7 separate regions of the Homo sapiens genome follow, and all the other regions are linked to region 3. Evidence: promoter capture Hi-C in 16 types of primary human blood cells and fetal thymus (Javierre and others, 2016). All regions are on one chromosome and are shown on one strand. Each heading gives the region's core, a stretch centred on a gene start or on the middle of the fragment in contact. The rest is flanking DNA. Distances are from core to core; before and after follow the strand shown. Region 1 has its middle 25 kb from the start of LACC1. Region 2 has its middle 48 kb from the start of LINC02341. Region 3 holds the start of EPSTI1 (epithelial stromal interaction 1). Region 4 has its middle 5.7 kb from the start of ENOX1. Region 5 overlaps CCDC122 (coiled-coil domain containing 122). Region 6 overlaps LOC124903166 (a long non-coding RNA gene). Region 7 overlaps CCDC122 (coiled-coil domain containing 122).

What was found. Contacts are between HindIII fragments. The CHiCAGO score rates a contact against its expected background, and 5 or more counts as called.
Region 1: a contact is called between a fragment that was not itself captured here and the fragment with the promoter of EPSTI1 in region 3, in 1 of 17 cell types (monocytes). The highest score is 5.9, in monocytes.
Region 2: a contact is called between a fragment that was not itself captured here and the fragment with the promoter of EPSTI1 in region 3, in 1 of 17 cell types (total B cells). The highest score is 5.5, in total B cells.
Region 4: a fragment that was not itself captured here is called in contact with the fragment with the promoter of EPSTI1 in region 3 in 4 of 17 cell types (endothelial precursors, M1 macrophages, M2 macrophages and 1 more); the score reaches 9.1 in endothelial precursors.
Region 5: a contact is called between a fragment that was not itself captured here and the fragment with the promoter of EPSTI1 in region 3, in 1 of 17 cell types (monocytes). The highest score is 5.2, in monocytes.
Region 6: a fragment that was not itself captured here is called in contact with the fragment with the promoter of EPSTI1 in region 3 in 4 of 17 cell types (M1 macrophages, M2 macrophages, fetal thymus and 1 more); the score reaches 9.3 in M1 macrophages.
Region 7: a contact is called between a fragment that was not itself captured here and the fragment with the promoter of EPSTI1 in region 3, in 3 of 17 cell types (M1 macrophages, M2 macrophages and monocytes). The highest score is 7.0, in M1 macrophages.

The regions. Positions count from the first base shown.
Region 1 is chr13:43,903,547-43,906,246 of GRCh38, forward strand. No RefSeq gene overlaps it. Among named protein-coding and RNA genes, the nearest start is that of LACC1, 25 kb to the left of the region's middle. The HindIII fragment of the contact is 1,159 bases long and covers 845-2,003 here.
Region 2 is chr13:42,375,848-42,378,547 of GRCh38, forward strand. No RefSeq gene overlaps it. Among named protein-coding and RNA genes, the nearest start is that of LINC02341, 48 kb to the right of the region's middle. RefSeq lists an enhancer at 2,162-2,241. The HindIII fragment of the contact is 1,771 bases long and covers 394-2,164 here.
Region 3 is chr13:42,990,900-42,993,645 of GRCh38, forward strand. It overlaps EPSTI1 (epithelial stromal interaction 1), which reads right to left and starts at 1,342. Exons shown (of 11, transcript NM_033255.5): 1 at 1,079-1,342. The coding sequence starts at 1,266. RefSeq lists enhancers at 1,356-1,475, 1,736-1,975. The HindIII fragment of the contact is 6,494 bases long and covers 1-2,746 here.
Region 4 is chr13:43,791,330-43,794,029 of GRCh38, forward strand. No RefSeq gene overlaps it. Among named protein-coding and RNA genes, the nearest start is that of ENOX1, 5.7 kb to the left of the region's middle. The HindIII fragment of the contact is 340 bases long and covers 1,216-1,555 here.
Region 5 is chr13:43,856,154-43,858,853 of GRCh38, forward strand. CCDC122 (coiled-coil domain containing 122) reads right to left here. Exons shown (of 7, transcript NM_144974.5): 6 at 2,628-2,700. Among named protein-coding and RNA genes, the nearest start is that of CCDC122, 22 kb to the right of the region's middle. The HindIII fragment of the contact is 4,662 bases long and covers 1-2,700 here.
Region 6 is chr13:43,812,224-43,814,923 of GRCh38, forward strand. It overlaps LOC124903166 (a long non-coding RNA gene), which reads left to right. Exons shown (of 3, transcript XR_007063773.1): 2 at 359-419; 3 at 2,042-2,593. Among named protein-coding and RNA genes, the nearest start is that of ENOX1, 27 kb to the left of the region's middle. The HindIII fragment of the contact is 3,770 bases long and covers 1-2,700 here.
Region 7 is chr13:43,833,663-43,836,362 of GRCh38, forward strand. It overlaps CCDC122 (coiled-coil domain containing 122), which reads right to left. Exons shown (of 7, transcript NM_144974.5): 7 at 2,690-2,700. Among named protein-coding and RNA genes, the nearest start is that of CCDC122, 45 kb to the right of the region's middle. The HindIII fragment of the contact is 4,663 bases long and covers 1-2,700 here.

The sequences.
Region 1 (2,700 bases), core at 174-2,673, 910 kb after region 3:
TGAAGCCTAGGCAATATAGCGAGACCCCAACTTTACCACAAAAAAAAAAAAAAAAAGCCTAGCATGGTGGCACATGCCTGTAGTCCCAGCTACTTGAGAGGCTGAGCTGGGAGGATTGCTTCAGTTCAGGAGGTCGAGGCTGTAGTGAGCCATGATTGCACCACTGCACTCCAGCCTGGGAACAGAGTGAGATGCTGCACCCCTCCCCTGCCCCCCAAAAAGGAATATGGGAGTCATATGCCATATATATTAACATGGAAAACAAACAGTTCATATACAGGAGGTCCATAATTTGCAAAATACAGACAGTAATGACTTAACACTTTTCTACTAGAACTGCTAAACAACAACTATTTAAAAGAAGGAGTTTACTCTTAGATTTTCCGTTATATTAAATGGAATCTGGTTGGCATGATGATTCCTTTAATGAAAAACTACATAGTTTCCATCCACTGGCATAAGAGTGGAATAGAAATGTATAGCTAAATAACAGTTTATGGTCCATACTTGCAATATCATAGTCCATTTTGGGAAGTAACACCTAAACAAGTTCAGAGGAAAGCAATACTAATGGTGAGAGATCCCAAAGCCATATATGATCATGGAGGAATGGTCTCAAAGGGATTAGAAATGATTAGCATGGAGAAAATAAATCTCAGTGGCATAACATAGCACACTGCAGGTGTCTGACATACAAAATACCAAAGAGATTGGAAAACACAGAACCAATTAGTGGAAATTATAGGAAGGCTGATTTTGGCTTTGTATGAATGTTAGGAAAAACAATTGCCAATAGGCCTTAAACCTCCCAGAGCATTTTTTCCTGGGCATACCAAGAATGCAAAGCTTTGACCTTTTTTTAATGCCACCATTTTTCAAGATTGTGTTTGCAGAAAGCAACCTTAAGGGATAAGTTTAGGTCCCACTTTGGGAAAAAGAGCCACCTTACTTTCTGCTTATTATAAAAGCAGTGGATTCCCCAAGCTCAGTATTCCTAAGACACAAATCCACTATATGCACGAGATATACCTGGACCCTTCTATGGTGCCTCCATGGGACATAAGGAGAACTTACTCAAATATGATGTTCATGCTGCTTGCTAAGCATGAATAATGAAGTCTTCTATCTCATGTCTTCCGCCAACATTTAAGAAACAGTGATAGGCTAATTTATTAACTTGTAAGTATGGTGAGGTCAAGAAATCTCATACCCAACAATGGAGAACACATTAGTTAGCAGATTTCCTATCCAGAAGTGTTCACATGTGGATGTGTAAACTTCTTGGAGAAGATGATGTATAAACGTAGCAAAAAATAAAGTTTCAGACAAGTAGTTTTTCTTAGACTTTCAATGTTATTTCAGTTCCGTAAATTGTATTATTCCTTTTTAGGAAACACAAATATAATTGGACTTATCTACAGAATACCAGGACTCCCTAGGAAGTCTCTACATAAATATGGTCTCAATATTCATTTAAATGACCCAAATTCCATCCATTGTCTGCGTGTATTTCCACTCTAGTAAACCTTTAGTAGCTTTCAGATAAAGGGAAATCCAAGATTATTATGCCAAAAGTGTAATTCTCTTAGACTTCATGCCAGAGTTCTTAGCATCCAAGGCAGTCAAGATTACCATATCCAAGGTATATACTACCAATATGACTTAGTATTGTTGATCATATGACTGAGGCAGTGTTTGCCAAATTTTTCCACTGTCTAGTCTCTGCTATGACATCCCTCTTCCTTCCTTACTAGAAGTTGAGTATCTCTGATTCATCTTATTGGAAATTCACTGACATTAGTTTTATTAATATTAATAAGAAGTTAGTATCTATAGTGTTGGTAAGCACACATAATATTTTTCTCCCATTGCCAAAAGCCTCTGGTAATATTTATCAGAATACTTTGAAAATGTGTATTAAAGTCTAGTCTAGAATTTTGAATGAGTGGTGTAATTCAGTTTGGGATTACATAGGATCTATGGCCTTCACTGAATGCAAGCAAAGCTTTAACACTAGCATCATAGTCAAAACCTCTTTGTCCTCTTCGTTCGCAAATGCTTTGTGCATCACACAGATATATCCACTGGGTGGCAGTATGTACTCAAGAATATTTACTGTTTCTAGTTGCCTCAATCTAACGGAATTTAAAGATGTCAAACTTTTTTTATCTGGAAAATAGCCATTGTAGTGAATCTTAAGAAACAGTATTGTCTGAATGCAAGCTCCTCCCTAGAGATGATTATGGAGATTATAATAATGTTAATATTATATACTTCCTACCATTTACTCTCAATCATATTCTTTCTTCTGCCAACAATACTCTTAGCATGAGAACTGGTAAATACCTATTATCCTACCTCTTATTTCTGTAACCTATCTCTTAGTTCTAAGGAACTTGCCTGGTGATAGACTTTTCCCTTTCTCCATTTTGTTTCTTAAATATCATACCCTCTCCACAGTGAAATCAAGAGATAGACCTTTAAGCTTCTGTATAGTACCATATGTACCCCTTTAGTTCTGCACTACCTCCTAGACAAATAGAGCAGATTCTAGATATTCACATAGTCTTGCAAAGTCATATGGTTCTCTTTCACTTAAATTAATTCTGTCTGAAATGCAGAATGGCACCAATTAACTTGCTCTACGTAAGATTGTCTTCAATGAAGAGAGGGAAAACCTTCCAAGAAATTAAATTGTGT
Region 2 (2,700 bases), core at 29-2,528, 620 kb before region 3:
CAGCACAAGGTATTTGATGTGGTCACCAGATAACCTTGAATTGTAGACCCTTGCCAAACACTGCAGAAATGCTTTGGGCTGGAGTGTTCTTGCTTCACAGACTTCTTCATTTTATGATTGCCAGAGTCATTGAAAATAAATTTTGGATTGTGCTAAAGGGAAATAACAAAGATACTATCTGGGATCAGTCTCTCAGATTTGACAGACAATTTCATGCTTTTAATTGATTCCAATCTTTGCAAAAAAGTGGAACGAAGTAATAGACAAAAATTAACAACAAAGATGCCAGAAGTGACTATCATTGCATGAAACTTTTGCTGTGTTGTTTGCAAATTGCGTTCCAGTACTATATTCTCATTTGTTGAAAGATATTAGAAAAGAATCCAATCCCCAAGCTTTGTAAAGATTTTGATGTTGTGGCATATAGTAATCGTATTCATTTCCCCCTTTATCCTTTTTGTATTATAATCTTCCAAGTTCTAATTGGGCACACAAACTCCTTTTCCTGGGGTAACTTAAGCTAGATATGTGATTAAATTCTGGCCAATGGGATGTGAGTTGCAACTTCTTGCTAATACCCTTTAAAAAGAAACTGATTGCTCTGTACTCTCTTTTACCCTTCCTTTGGGGCAGAATAAAGAGGAGGTGCTGCAGATAAGAGCAACATTCTAGGGAATGTTGCTAGGGCAACAAGTGGAAACACTTGGAAAAGTGTATTTGGCTCTATAGAAATTAGATTTAATTTTTTTTAAAAACAGAAGATGATCCTGGGTCCCTGGAGGACCTCATGGAGCAGAGTCAGCTTCTTGGCCTTGCCTTACCCACAACCTATGTGCTCCTCTGTTAAAAGGAAATATTTTTCCATTCTGCTTGAGGCACTGTGTTTTGTGTAACTTTGCTACAGCAACTTGGGCTATGCCCTAATACTAGATGTGTTCTAAATTTTCCACACTTGCTGTTTTCCCATTGGATGAAGGGCTTGTGAGACACAGCATATGTTAAAAAAAAAAAAAAGACTTCTCTATTACTCTTTTTCAAGGTGGCAGACAAAGTTCAAATTCACATTATAGGCTCTTTTAGTATATTACATGTCCTCAGCACTGGTACTTGGTTCCCTCCCTCCCTCCCTTCCTTCCCTCCTTCCTTTTTTCCTTCCTTCCCCTCCTTCCTTCCTCCCCCCACCCCCTTTGTCTTTCTTTCTTGAGACAGGGTCTAGCTCTGTTGCCCAGGCTGGAATACAGTACGTCCCATCCTTGCTCACTGCAGCCTCGAACATCTGTGCTCAATGAATCCTCCTGCCTTAGTCTCCTGAGTAGCTAGGACTGTAGGAGCATGCCACCATGCCAAGCTAATTTTCTATTTTTGTAGAAATTGGGTCTTACTATGTTGCCCAAGCCGGTTTTGAACTCCCTGCTCTTGACCTCCCAAAGAGTTGGGATTACACACGTGAGTCACTGTGCCTAGCCAGTACTCAATTTCATTTTGAAAGTTGTATTTCTGTTTTATTTTTGTTAAATGGAATTAAAATGTCTGTGCAGTGTCTATCATAACCTAGTACAAAAGCAATAAAACTATTGTAAGCACTAAGCAATGTGGTCATTATTGACTTCTTTTTCTAGCAAAGGAAAGAGATAGGAAAATGGCTTTTGCATGGGGAATTTAATGTGTCACAGAAAATGATATAGAAGATAATGTAAATTGTGATGATGTGAACGCGGAGTAGTTTGTGTCGAGCATGATGGCCAATGGCAGCTAACTATGCCCTTCTGGAAACAGATGCACCCCTTTGCGTATATCAAATCTCCAAGCTGCACTGCACCAAAAGAACCCTGGGCACCATGTTACTTAGCTGGAAGGAAATGGGGAAGCTGTGGGAACCCCTATAAAACTCCCTCTGACATATTTAGCCTGTGGCTTGTGGGTATTCACTCAAACTCCAGGAGTGTGGGTTACCTTTAGTCAAATCTGAAGGAGTTTTGCATCTGTCACCCAATGCAGAGCTGAAGGAGAGGGAGCAGGTGTGAAATACAACCCAGACTTCCTTTTTAGTCCCAGTGGGGGTACATTTTTGTCTCACTGTTACCCTTGGTAACTCTGGGATGGTAAATAGTGAGATGAGTAATTCAGAAAGTGGAAACGGAAAGTGTTACTATATCTGCTACGAAGCTTTGCATCAGAAAAGTACTTCCTTTGCTTCTAAAGAGACTTGAAGAGTTTTGGGCTTCTTCTTCTTCTCTCTAGGTAGCTTTTTATTATCTCATGTTATAGTTACTTACATAAACGTATTGCTGGGAATTCTAGTAGCACAGGGATTATAGGAGTTTCCTGTGATTTAACTAAATCACTGGTGTCTTCAATACCATGTCCATGCTTCCCCCACAAACATCAGAGAAAATGACTTCTTGGCATGGGAAGTTTATGAGTCCAGAAATAATCTATATTTAGTATTTTTGGCATGGAGCCCTCCATAATCTGGCTCCAGGCTGCCTTATTCCTAGGCTCTGCCTCTTCCCTCCGTGTGATATCATATCAGATGGCAGAGGCAATGGAACCATCAGACTAGATTGTGGTTTTGGGCCACAAAGCATGACCCATCAGTCTTTCAGATTCTTAGTAGATGGGATGACCCCATGAGCTTTACCACCATAATTTTATTTTTACACCCATGAAAGTCATGGGCACTAGTTGGTGAGATCCAGA
Region 3 (2,746 bases), core at 92-2,591:
TGATGTTGTGATAAACCATACTGTTGAGTTAAAGTTCATTCCATTGGCTAGAAAGAGAGGCTCATGACACTTGCTTAATAAATGTTTCCCGGATACTCACTGCAGTCCCTGAACCAAAGACCAGGAATAAAAGCTACCTATCTGTTCCTGCATAGAGCACATATCAACATCAGGGATGAGAGGTACTATGGTCACTCACCTCCTCACTCTCTCAGCTCCACTCCTCTGGTTGTAAGAGGCTAGTTTATCTGCGAGTCTTGCTGGGACGTAGGCTTGCTCCTACCTAGAGGCAGAATTTGAACCTTCTACCCCATATCACATTTCTTGTTGACCCTTACCTGTTAGTGTCTGATACAGTAATTCCGTTTAGGACACCAAGTTTTGTTTTTCTGTTTTGTTTTGTTTTGAGACAGTCTCGCTCTGTTGCCCAGGCTGGAGTGCAATGGCGCAATTTCCGCTCACTGCAACCTCCGCCTCCCGGGTTCAAGCGATTCTCCTACCTCAGCCTCCCAGGTAGCTGGGACTACAGGCACGTGCCATCACACCCAGCTTATTTTTTATTTTTAGTAAAGACTGGGTTTCACCATGTTGGCCAGGCTGGTTTCGAACTCCTGACCTCAGGTGATCTGCCTGCCTTGGCCTCCCAAAGTGCTGGGATAACAGGCTTGAGCCAACGCGCCTGGCCCAGCACCAAATTTTTAAAAACAGTAAGGGAAAAGTTATTTCCATACTGGTTGGAGTATGAGTTCTGGAGATACCTGGAAAATGACATCTTACTGGATGCCTAGGCAGTTCCGACACACCCATATCTTTCAATCCTGTAGCCAGTCACAAAAATCAGGAAAGTAGTATTCCTGGAAGGAACCGGGCTGGTTATTTACCAAAGGACTGCAAACTAGCCGACTCAATTTATAAGGTGCGGCATGGATACTTTCATTTAAGCAAATGAGCTTTCATTCAGTCAAAATCCCTGTTGTTGGGCCCCTGTGGTTTTAAACTCCAAGGACCAAGGTGCTTGTGAGTGAGTATGTTTGGGGCCCGGGCTCCCGCCCCGAAGCCAGGTTGTTAAAATACTCACCGCCTCTGGCCCGCGTGCACGACGCTCTCCCGCGAAGGGCCCTTAGGGGCTGCCTCCAAACCCTCTCTCTGGTCTTCCACGGGGCTCAGCTCCCCTTGCCGCCCAGAAGGGTCCTGGGGATCCCGGGTCGGGCGGGAGGCAGGGGAGGCGCCGAGCCCGGAGTTCACCACTCTATTGCGGGTGTTCATGGTTCACAGCCCGCGGGTCCCGGGCCGCCGTCGCTGCGGGAGGGATGCGGCTGGGACGCTTAGCGAGTCTCAAGATGGGATTCCAAAGTGCAGAGGCAGCGGTTTTAACAGCTGAGTTTCGGTTTCTCAGAATCAGCAGCAGACTGCGCCCGCCCCAGAGAACTTCCCCACGTATTCTCCACTGAGGCCCCGTCCGACCTTATCGCGGGTTAACAGCCCAGGATGTTGACTTGAGCTGGCTTGGTCGGCTACAGGTGAGACGGTTTAAAGTCTCACAATCACCTTAGAGGTTAATCAGAATAACTGGGATCAGCCACGGACACCTGGTGAGCGATTAGCCCGCAGAGTGACTACAATCCTGAAAGATACTTGAGAAACTGTTTAACAGGCAACTCTAATTTGAGGTTACCGCTGGATATTTGAGACTGTAAAAAATATATTAACCTTAAAATACCAGAGATTAGGTCAATAACTAAAATCATCTCAACAAAATGTCGCCTTTTATCAGTAATGACTGCTGTGTGGCTGTTACCAATGCACATACTTTCAAGTTAGAGGAAATGGAAACTGAAATCAAAAGAAAACAAAAACCTACAAAGCCGGAGAAGTAAGCTAAGGTAGACATGATTCTCCAGGCAGCCTTGCTAAGTAATTGACTAGACATTCGAGAACTATTAAAAATACCTGCTCTGTGCAGAACAGTGTGCAACGGTGATGTGGGGACATTTTAAAATATGGATGTGTAAGGCTCAGTTCCTGTAGGTTCAGGGGTGAGCTCTGGCATTCATATTTTTGAAAAGCTCCCAGATGATTCTGATGTGTGCCAGGGTTGGTCACCAGGGTCACAATGCCGTCTACACAAAGATGAGTGAAGGCTCTTCCCTCATGCTACCTGCATTCTAGGAGTATCCTAGTAGACAGGTAAACAAATGGGAATGCCACTTTGGGATAAATGAAATGACAGGCAGCTGTGGAGGCACAGAGAAACTGGGGATTAGCCCTCTGAGTAATTCAGGAACAGGGACATTTGAGAATGAGCCACCAAAGACATAGGAATTCACCAAGAAGAAGGAGATGCTATGGCAGAGGCTTGTCACTTAAAATGACATGGTGTGTACTTAATTCCAGGGGTTGTCATGTGGCTGGAGCACCCCAGTCCTAGGTCAGCAAGACAGTTAGGAGCTGGACTGTCTTCCTTATATTATTGGTGCTTAGAACAAAAAGACACATACAGGTTTGATAGCTAATGAAAGAATGAAATTGAAGGGTGGGCCAGGGTGGGACAGGAGAGGAGAAAATAATGACAAGGAACATGGTAGGAAAGTCAGTCAGGATTTCTATGCCATCCTAAGACATTAGGGTTTTGTAGAGTAGGCCAGAGTTTCACAAATTTCAGTAAGCATCAGAACCACTTGGAGGAGGGTGCGTTAAAACAGATTTATGGCCAGGCACGGTGGCTCACTCCTGTAATTCCAGTACT
Region 4 (2,700 bases), core at 136-2,635, 800 kb after region 3:
GATTAATTGCACCATGACATTTTATGGCTAAAGGGAAAAGAATTGGTAGATTTACTAATCTCACTTCTATTTTTAATCTAATAATTTATTTGATTGTCAACACCAAGAAGATGCATAAGCAAATCAGTAAACTGAACAAGTATTTATTGAGTACCTACTTCATAATCAGTTCTGTTCTTCAAGCTGTGTTTGTTACCAATAAAGTATAAAATACGATCTATCTATTCCTTTAGGGAGCCTATAGTGTAGTAATCATTATTCTTGAGGACAAAAAAAGTGAACATAAGCGTAATTTATCACTTGACCAGGTGCAACAAACTTCAATTTGAATTACCAGTAGGACTTAATAAAGCTATTTGTTAAATAAATAAACCACTTGGGTAATAATTGATTATCAGTGGCCAATGTATATATGCATATTTTCATATTCATATTCCCTAGTAGCAATCATTTAGATGATCACACCATATATAATGTAAAAAGCTAGTCTATTGCTGTAGCATGAATTTTAGATTGAGGATATGAAGAAGTTGACAAGGAGAGATAGACCATGTGGGCAATGGCAGCTGTGGATTACCTTTCCCTGGGATCACTGGGCAGACTGGAATAAGTTAGAATATGCTAGAGCTTATATTTAACCCATCCAAGAATTTATAGGGCAACCCATGAACAGTATTTTGAAATTTCTATGTCTACAAAAACCCAGAAGTCTCTTCTTGTATAATTTTAACATTTTATTATTACTCTCCTTACAATTTTTAAAATTTTCACTTTCTCAATTTCTTTCCACTTATTAACACAGAATTATTTTTAATGTAGTTTTTAAAAACACAACTTCTTCACTCAATTCCTGACACAATTATGAAGAGTTAAAAAGCTCTTATAGAGTGAATTGACATAAAGCCATTTACTTAATTAGAGCTGTTTGAAGCCCAACCATCCATGTATTGAATGCTTTATATAACCTGCCTCCCGATGGGCCCCAGAGGCTTCATGTGGGGAAGCTAGGACTGTTAGTGCTATCTTTTGATTTTTCAAGAGGTGGTCTTAGCACAGCATTAAAATAACACAGGATACTGAATCATAAGATCTGAGTTCAAATCCCAGCCCAGGCAACAACTTGCTGTGTGAGATTGTGCACCACACTTTCCGAGCTTCACTTGCCCCCGTCTGGGAAATGTGGATAATAACACCTACCTCATCAGTTTCTTAAGAAGCTTACATCAAGTAACATTAAGTTACATTAAGTAACATGAGAAAGAGTCCCTTTGTTGTGTTGTAGGAATTCAGTAAATCTTTGTAGACCTTGGATCTAAATCAAAAGTGTGTGGCAGAAAATTGGAACACAGTCATGAATAGGAAGCTCCTGTAGAAATTTTAAATCTTTATTATAATGTTGAACTGAGCTGATTTCCTGGGAGTCCCTTCCAAGGATATTTTAAGAAAACCACAGACAACCAAAAGTTGGCAGAAACTGACACATGCAGGAAATTGTGGATTCCATAATTCTAGAGGTGCTGTAATTCTATAAATTCTGCTGCTGTTACAAAACCCAAGCTTTGTGTTCATTTGTTTTTAATTAGTCTCTGTTTTGTTTCTGTCACACATATTCTGCCTCCCCAATGGTGCTTTGCCCTGCTAATTTAACTATGCGAACATTCATTTTATAGATTAATACCAACTGTGAAAATGTCTCTCTTTTAAACAAAAATAGTTCACTGTCCTCTCTTCCCCACCACATCCCAATTGTAAAAGTAGTGTGTGTGCTTACGGAGAAAAAATAGGCAATACAAAAATGTATAAAGAAAAAGATTGGCCAGGCGCGGTGGCTCACGCCTGTAATCCTAGCACTTTGGGAGGCTATGGAGAGTGGATTGCCTGAGCTCAGGAGTTCGAGACCAGCGTGGGCAATATGGCAAAACCCTGTCTCTACTAAAAACATAAAAAATTAGCCAGGTGTGATGGTGGGCGCCTGCAATCTCAGCTACCTGGGAGGCTGGGGCAGGAGAATCGCTTGCACCTGGGAGGCGGAGGTTGCAATGAGCTGAGATCGTGCCACTGCACTCCAGCCTAAGCAACACAGCGAAACTCTGTTTCCAAAAAAAAAAAAAAAAATGCAGTAAGTAGTATTGCCTCTCAGGGACCAAGTACGATTACTATTTTGGTGTATACCCTTCCAGACATTTTCTTTGCATATATTTGTTCTACTTAAAAGTCATTCAGGTTGGCCAGGCACGGTGGCTCACGTCTGTAATCCCAGCACTTTGGGAGGCCGAGGCAGGCGGATCACTTGAGGTCAGGAGTTCGAGAACAGCCTGACCAACATGGTGAAACCCCTGTCTCTACGAAAAATACAAAAAATTAGCTGGGCATGGTGGCATGTGCCTGTAATCCCAGCTACTGGGGAGGCTGAGGCAGGAGAATCGCTTGAACCCGAGAGGCAGAGGTTGCAGTGAGCCAAGATCAAGCCATTACACTTCAGCCTGGGGGACAGCAAGACTCTATCTCAAAAAAAAAAAAAAAAAAAAGTCATCCAAGTCAAGATTCAGCCATTTTTAATGTTACCATTTTAGAAACAAACAGTTAAAACACTTTCACAAAAAGGCTCAAATGTGTTTCTTTTCCTTTCCTACACCTTCTTTCCAAGATAGGCTCTTTGCTCAGCAAGTCCTTTTTTTTTTTTTTTTTTTTTTGAGACGG
Region 5 (2,700 bases), core at 173-2,672, 870 kb after region 3:
GATGAGAACTTATGGACACATAGAGGGAAACAACACACACTGGAGGGTGAGAGGAGGGAAAGGATCAGGAAAAATAACTAATGGGTACTAGGCTTAATACCTGGCTATTGAAATAATCTGTACAACAAACTATGACAGAAATTTACCTATATAACAAACCTGCATACATACCCCTGAACTTAAAAGTTAAATTAAGGCTGGGCGCGGTGGCTCACGCCTGTAATCCCAACACTTTGGGAGGCCGAGGCGGGTGGATCATGAGGTCAGGAGATCAAGACCATCCTGGCTAACATGGTGAAACCCCGTCTCTACTAAAAATGCAAAAAATTAGCTGGGTGTGGTGGCAGGCGCCTGTAGTCCCAGCTACTCCGGAGGCTGAGGCAGGAGAATGGCGTGAACCTGGGAGGCAGAGCTTGCAGTGAGCCGAGATTGCACTACTGCACTCTAGCCTGGGCGATGGGGCGAGACTCTGTCTCAAAAAAAAAAAAAAGAAAAGAAAAAATCTCTCAATAATTTGTTTTCATGTATAAAACTTTGTTGCAGGATATCTGACAAAAATCGGTGAACTGTATGGTATGTGAATTTTATCTTAGTAAAGCTGTTTATAAAAATCAGAATAGTGGCTATTTGATAAAAAGGGTAGAAGAGAACTTTCTGGACATGCTGGGAAAGTTCTATATCTTGATCTAGGTAATGCCAACATAAATATATGTACATGTTAGTCTAAATAAATCAAGCCATCCATTTATAATTTGTGTACTTACTCTTATGACAATTATACCTCAATAAAATATGTTACTGTAAAAAAATTAAAAGGTAATTTCACATTTCTTTCCAAAGTGCTTTTAGCAATTTACATTCACAAGAATACTGTATTAAAATTCCCACGCTCAACATCTCCCAACTGTAATACCGATAATCAGATGGGCTAAACATGGAACTTTGCTGTGGTTTTAATTATCAGTCTCTTATTGCTAATGAGGATGGTCATATTTTTCTTTATTTCTGATATTCATGGTTCAGAAAAATGGTCTTTTTATACCATTTGCCCAATGTTTCACTGATTTGACATTTTCTTATCTCTTTCTTATCACATACATGTGTTATAATAATCTAGAATGGAGTCTTGTTCTTTCTCTTGTGATGGTATATTCCCATAATCTGGAAATTTATGGCATAGTCAAAACTAAAGATATTTAACCACAGAATTTATGGAGTGTTTTTCTCTTTTAAAATAAATGCTTTTCTGACACAAATTTTTAAGTTTTTATCCTATGTTGTATTCAATACTTAGAAGTGTGTGTGTGTGTGTGTGTGTGTGTGTGTGTGCACGTGTGTATTATGAGGTAGGAATCCAGTTTTATTTCAACATTTTTCTTTATTTTTCCATAGAGGTAATCTATTTTGTTTTTACCACTCAAGGATGCATAATTTCTGGATTCTTTTTTTCATTAATAATTTTTTTCTGGCCGGGTGTGGTGGCTCACGCCTGTAATCCCAGCACTTTGGGAGGCCGAGGCAGGCGGATCACCTGAGGTCAGGAGTTTGAGACCAGCCTGGCCAACATGGTGAAACCCCATCTCTACTAAAAATACAAAAATTAGCTGGGCATTGTGGTACGTGCCTGTAATCCCAGTTATCTGGGAGGCTGAGATGGGAAAATCGCTGGAACCCGGGAGGCCGAGGCGGCAGTGAGCTGAGATCGCACCACTGTACTCCAGTCTGGGTGACAGAGCAAGACTCCGTCTCAAAAATAAAGAAAAAATAATAATAATAATATTTTTTTCTACTCTTTTACCACTGATACACTGTCTTACTATTTATTGTTTTATAATGAACCTTAATGTCTACAAGGGCAAAAAGAATCGTTATTTAGATTCCTAGTAAACTAAAAGGTAAAATCGTGATATTTTTTAATAGCGAATATGTAAAGATGAGGATTTTTATCTTTAATTTCCTCAGATGCTTTGTATTGTGTCAAATTAGTCAAAAACAAGTTGAAACATGCATATTTTTATTTTCCAAATTAATGTATTCAGGCAAAAATTATTTGCCCTTAATAGCATATTATTTTACATTTCTGTTCACCATTCATCCAAACAATAATGACAATAGAAGTCCACAGGCAGCACCACAACACATTATGAATTTACTCTGACTTTCAATTTTGCATATTTTCAGTTTGTTTTTTTAACTTGACTCTTGATAATTGCGAATATGAAGTCAGAGAGGTTTGGAAAGACGATGCTTTCCATTGTGTTTTATTCTATTTTGAGGAGTCTTTGATATCTAAGAATGGGCATCCTCTTTGACTACATAGCTGCTTTCTAGCCATTAATTGGGTATCATGTTCTTAGTGGAATGAGAAAAACCTGGAAGAACCCTCGCCCAGATTTAAATAGGAGTGAATGCTTGCATTGTTTGAACACATTCACATATTTGAACATCTTTGAATGAGGGGGTTATCTCTAGTTATCTATTAATGATTTGTATTTACTAAATTTTATAGTTCTTTCTTGTTCTTCAACTGTTTTGAGTATTGAGAGTAAACTATGGAAATATGAATATAGTGTTAAGTTTTAAAAATGGTCCCATAAAACATTGAAATCTAGATAATTAAGACTTACCTCTATTTCTTTTCTTAATTTTTCATGTGTCTTTTTTTCTTCCTCAAGAAAACAAGTTTTTTCAATGATAGAT
Region 6 (2,700 bases), core at 146-2,645, 820 kb after region 3:
CAAAGGCTACTTTACTTTCTACACCTGAAGTAGTGGCTATTGACATGAATATGGAAAGGGCAAAGGACAAATAAAATGGTGAGGAAAAAATATAAATTATATATCAAAGCCATATGCTGTTCTGCTTTGATTTCTAATGGAACTTAGTCAATCTTGAGCTGATTGGGTTTTGCTGTTGGACACAGAACATGAATGTAACTTAAATGAATCACAGCATATTTTATACAGCATATGCTTGCCTTCTTCCCTGTGCTTTATGTGGGCTGTGTAAGAGGGGAAGCAGAGAACTCACCATATTTATAATTAAATAATTAGCCTAATAGCTCTTACATATCTGCCTTCCATGCTCAACTGGAAGCTCCATGACTGCCGAAACTATGTCTGTCTTTTCACTGTGGATCTGAATTTCTTCTCCACAGGTACGTTCTTGTTATATGAATGAGTGAATCTGTCAAAGTGTTAGGTATGTTGGGAGGTGTAGGTCAGGAGTGTGGCAGCCAGGACCAGGCTACTATTCAGCCTCTTTGTGTGAAGAGCAGGGGATTTGGGAGGGGTGAGTAGATCTGGACTAAGTCGTCTCCTGAGATCCCTTACAACCCACCCAACTGTCCGGGGGCTTTCTGATTCAGGGTCAGTCTGGTCTTACATATGACCTGCCATAGCTTTGAGGGTTATAAGATATATTATGATAGGTTTTGTTCAAGCACTTGTCAAAACAAAAAATTACCAGGCCATTTCTTTTCACTTTCAAGAGGCATGTTAAAATGGCATCAACCCATTAGTAGCATTTATACCTATAAACAATAGAAACATCTCAACTTAGTGTCTGCCTTTAAGAGAAAAATTTTAAAAATTAAATTGCCACTTCTTCATATTTATTTAGCATATTCACAGGCTAAAAAAGAAATAATTGCAGGTCTCTTAAAGGCCTTATGGCTTACTCCAGAGTCAGTAGTTTCCAGTTTAACTTGGACTAATGGGTTGGTCAGCTAAGGATTGCTTTGGAGAGGGACTTACTTTAATGATTACAGACAACACTGATTCTTAAAGACTTCATGTTCTGAAAAGCATTATAATGATGGAATGATTATAAATAATAATATTCATAGGACACTTTATAAAGAATCCTGCCATAGTTATGATTTCATGTCTAAACCAACGCAGGGAGTAGCACATGAACCAATGGTGTAGATCCTCAGAGACATGTTTCCCTGCTTCCCGACTCCCACCCAGCCTCTGAGTCTCCATACAGCTTGGACTCAAAGATTCTCTTTTATTCCTTCTCCATGATAGTTAGACCCCCGTGCTCAGTTTCGTGGTTGTTCCAGCACGCAAAGGCTATGGTTTGAAATATCCCAGCCTTTCCTTTCTATTTCATCCATATCCTGCCCATCGTCTCAAAGATAGCTCATCTTGTTCACTCCTTGAAAATTTGTGAAACATATTTGGTATTTCATTATATTAACTCTTTCAGTGCTGCTGAACTGTTTCATCTGCTTCAGGTATTAGTGGCAGGAAGGAGAGGACCATGCCTTGCACATTATGTTGCAGAGATTCCCTTAGTAGATGTACACTTGTTGAATAAATGGTCCAGAATCATACCAATTGGAATACTTTCTTAAATCAAGTTACATGTTTGTATGGTGCCCTAGAAAATGTCTAGCACTTCTTAGGTGTTCAATAAATATTAATACTGCACTTGTAACCTGAGATGTTGAATTTGGTTTTAAAATAAGCCAACAAAGTAAGCAAGCTACTTCCCAGGTATGTTACCTTTTATAACTTCTATGTTTACAACTCTACTACCATATTGAGAGAATAACTGTTTAACATGATGACCCTGTGGTAAAAATCCAAACTCATTAAAAAAGAAAAGTTTGAGTTTCAAGTCAGTTACAAGTAAAATCAAATAAAGGAAGAAAGGAAGGAAAGCATGAGGGAGGGAAGGAGAGAGGGAGGGAGGAAAGAAGAAAAAAAGAAAAATTAAAATGCATTTGACATATTGAATGTATTAATTCAATTGCCAACCATTCTTTTGCAGTGCCTCCTAATCCTGGACAACAGAACATTGCTGGACAACCATGGCAAAGCTGAGCTCAGTGGGCTCACCATGGATTTACTCTGATCTGCATTACTTAGATCATTAATGTCAATCCCTTTTTTCCCAGTAGCTTTATGTCTGTTCACATCATTTCATTCTCAATTGCACTAGCTCTGTGCTTTTACCCTTAGCTGTTATCCTCACCCTCTATCTAAACAAGAGCTCCTTTGATTTCCTTCCTCCTCACTTTAAAATTTTCTTTTGCCTTTGATCGTTCTCTTATTTTTCTCATCCTGTCTCAGGAATGCTCTTTCTTCCCAAGGCTATGCCTTCCTCTCTGTATGGATCCTGTCCCCTCCTGGCTTTCCAGGACTACTGCATGAATTACCTTCTATTTTCTTGCATCTTCAGTGTCACCCTTTTCATGAGCTCTGCAACAGTCCTATTGCCCAAGCTCTAGAAAATCCCCCTCTTAAATTATTGTATTTCTAGCCTTTCATTTACTATCTCATTTCTCAAAAGTGCAATAAACATGTAATTTCCCTTTTTCTACTCTTTTGGTTTGAGGCATATTATCCTTCTATTTCTCACACCTAAGGCCTCAAATTCCACCTGTAAGGGGGTGAGCTTGCACTTAGGTTCTAGGCTAAATCTAGTCA
Region 7 (2,700 bases), core at 127-2,626, 840 kb after region 3:
GCACAGACTCACGATGATCCTAAGCACCAGGAAGAATGGATTATTAGATCTCTGCAGAGGCCAGTGAGATCAGAAAATGACATTTGGTGCAGAGCAGTGTCCCTGATGACACAACAAGTCCACCAGGTACTTAGAACACTTCCATGCAGAAAAAAAACGAAGAAGAGGAGAATTTTGAACTGAATATTTACCTCAAAGAGACTGAGCTTTAAAACAGAAGCATGTGTGTGAAACGCCACTAAGCAAAAGAGCTCATATTCTAAGCTAGGTTCAATTATACAGAACTAAAATTAAAAATAACTTCAATTTTCTAATATTAGAGTTTATGATTGTGTTGAAATATCATATCCACTAAATCATCAGGCTTTGGATACCTCAAATTTTAGTTCTTAATTAATCTGAAATTCTCTATTATCTGAAATAGTTTCCAAGATAAGAAAGAACAGAGATATAGACCAATGGAACAGAACAGAGCCCTCAGAAATAATGCCGCATATCTACAACTATCTGATCTTTGACAAACCTGGCAAAAACAAGAAATGAGGAAAGGATTCCCTATTTAATAAATGGTGCTGGGAAAACTGCCTAGCCATATGTAGAAAGCTGAAACTGGATCCCATCCTTACACCTTATACAAAAACTAATTCAAGATGGATTAAAGACTTAAACATTAGATCTAAAACCATAAAAACCCTAGAAGAAAACCTGGGCAATACCATTCAGGACATAGGCATGGGCAAGGACTTCATGTCTAAAACACCAAAAGCAATGGCAACAAAAGCCAAAATTGACAAATGGGATCTAATTAAACTAAAGAGCTTCTGCACAGCAAAATAAACCACCATCAGAGTGAACAGGCAACCTACAGAATGGGAGAAAATTTTTGCAATCTACTCATCTGACAAAGGGCTAATATCCAGAATCTACAATGAACCCCAACAAATTTATAAGAAAAAAACAAACAACCCCATTGAAAAGTGGGCAAAGGATATGAACAGACACTTCTCAAAAGAAGACATTTATGCAGCCAAAAGATACATGAAAAAATGCTCATCATCACTGGCCATCAGAGAAATGCAAATCAAAACCACAATGAGATACCATCTCACACCAGTTAGAATGGCAATCATTAAAAAGTCAGGAAGCAACAGGTGCTGGAGAGGATGTGGAGAAATAGGAACACTTTTACACTGTTGGTGGGACTGTAAACTAGTTCAACCATTGTGGAAGTCAGTGTGGCGATTCCTCAGGGATCTAGAACTAGAAATATCATTTGACCCAGCCATCCCATTACTGGGTATATACCCAAAGGATTATAAAACATGCTGCTATAAAGACACATGCACACGTATGTTTATTGCGGCACTATTCACAATAGCAAAGACTTGGAACCAACCCAAATGTCCAACAATGATAGACTGGATTAAGAAAATGTGGCACATATACACCATGGAATACTATGCAGCCATAAAAAATGATGAGTTCATGTCCTTTGTAGGGACATGGATGAAGCTGGAAGCCATCATTCTCAGCAAACTATTGCAAGGACAAAAAACCAAACACCGCGTGTTCTCACTCCTAGGTGGGAATTGAACAATGAGAACACATGGACACAGGAAGGGGAACATCACACACTGGGGCCTGTTGTGGGGTGGGGAGAGTGGGGAGGGATAGTATTAGGAGATATACCTAATACTAAATGATGAGTTAATGGGTGCAGCACACCAACATGGCACATGTATACATGTGTAACAAACCTGCACATTGTGCACATGTACCCTAAAAATTAAAGTATAATAAAAAAAGAAAGAACAAGGAGAAAAAGTTTCTTTTTCAAAGAATTTTTGACTGTCATAAAATGTAAAATAGGTATATGTATTAAGGATATTTTAGAAAACTACATTAAAACTTACTTTTAAAAATAGAGCACATTATCTTAAGCAGATTACAGCTATTTTCTTCATATCTGAATTTAAAAACAAGTTTTTGAATCTATAACTCAAGGTGTTATCATTTACAAATATTTTGAATCTCAATATAAACTTTAAAACACTTTAGAAAACTATAATTTTTTATAAGCGATAACTACACTTAGAAAATATAATAACTTTTTAATATGCAAGTTACATTAAAATATACTTATATAATCAGCATTTGGTTCTGGCTTATCTCCAGCCGAGTATAGTGTGTACTCCCCACAATCTGTAGGTTTCACCATTTTCACTGTAGCTTTGTTTCTGAGTCATGGACCAAAGCTGATTGTGTTACAGGATAAGCTGTTTGAAGTGTAAGCCACATTAAGCCATGCTAAGCCACAATAAAACTATTACTGTTAGACATAATAAGATTATTAATATCAGGTTTTATATCAGCTCCACTTACTGAATTTTAGCACATAGAAAGGTAAGGAGAAAATGGATTTTAAATATTTTTTGATGCTGTTTGAAATTATTTAATCCTACAAATGAATATTTTAAAACCATATCTTCCTATTTGTTTTTGTTTCTAAGTATTTGACTCAATGGAACCATGAAAAGGAGGAGCACGTTTATCTTGAAAGGGACAAGTTAACATTTGATTTATTGACATTTTGCCTTTCAGTGAGAAAAAATATGTTAGTCTATAGTGAGTAATACTCTTAAGAGTTACATGATGTTATAACTTTAATTTAGTCACAGAATACGAATAATTTATAGAAAG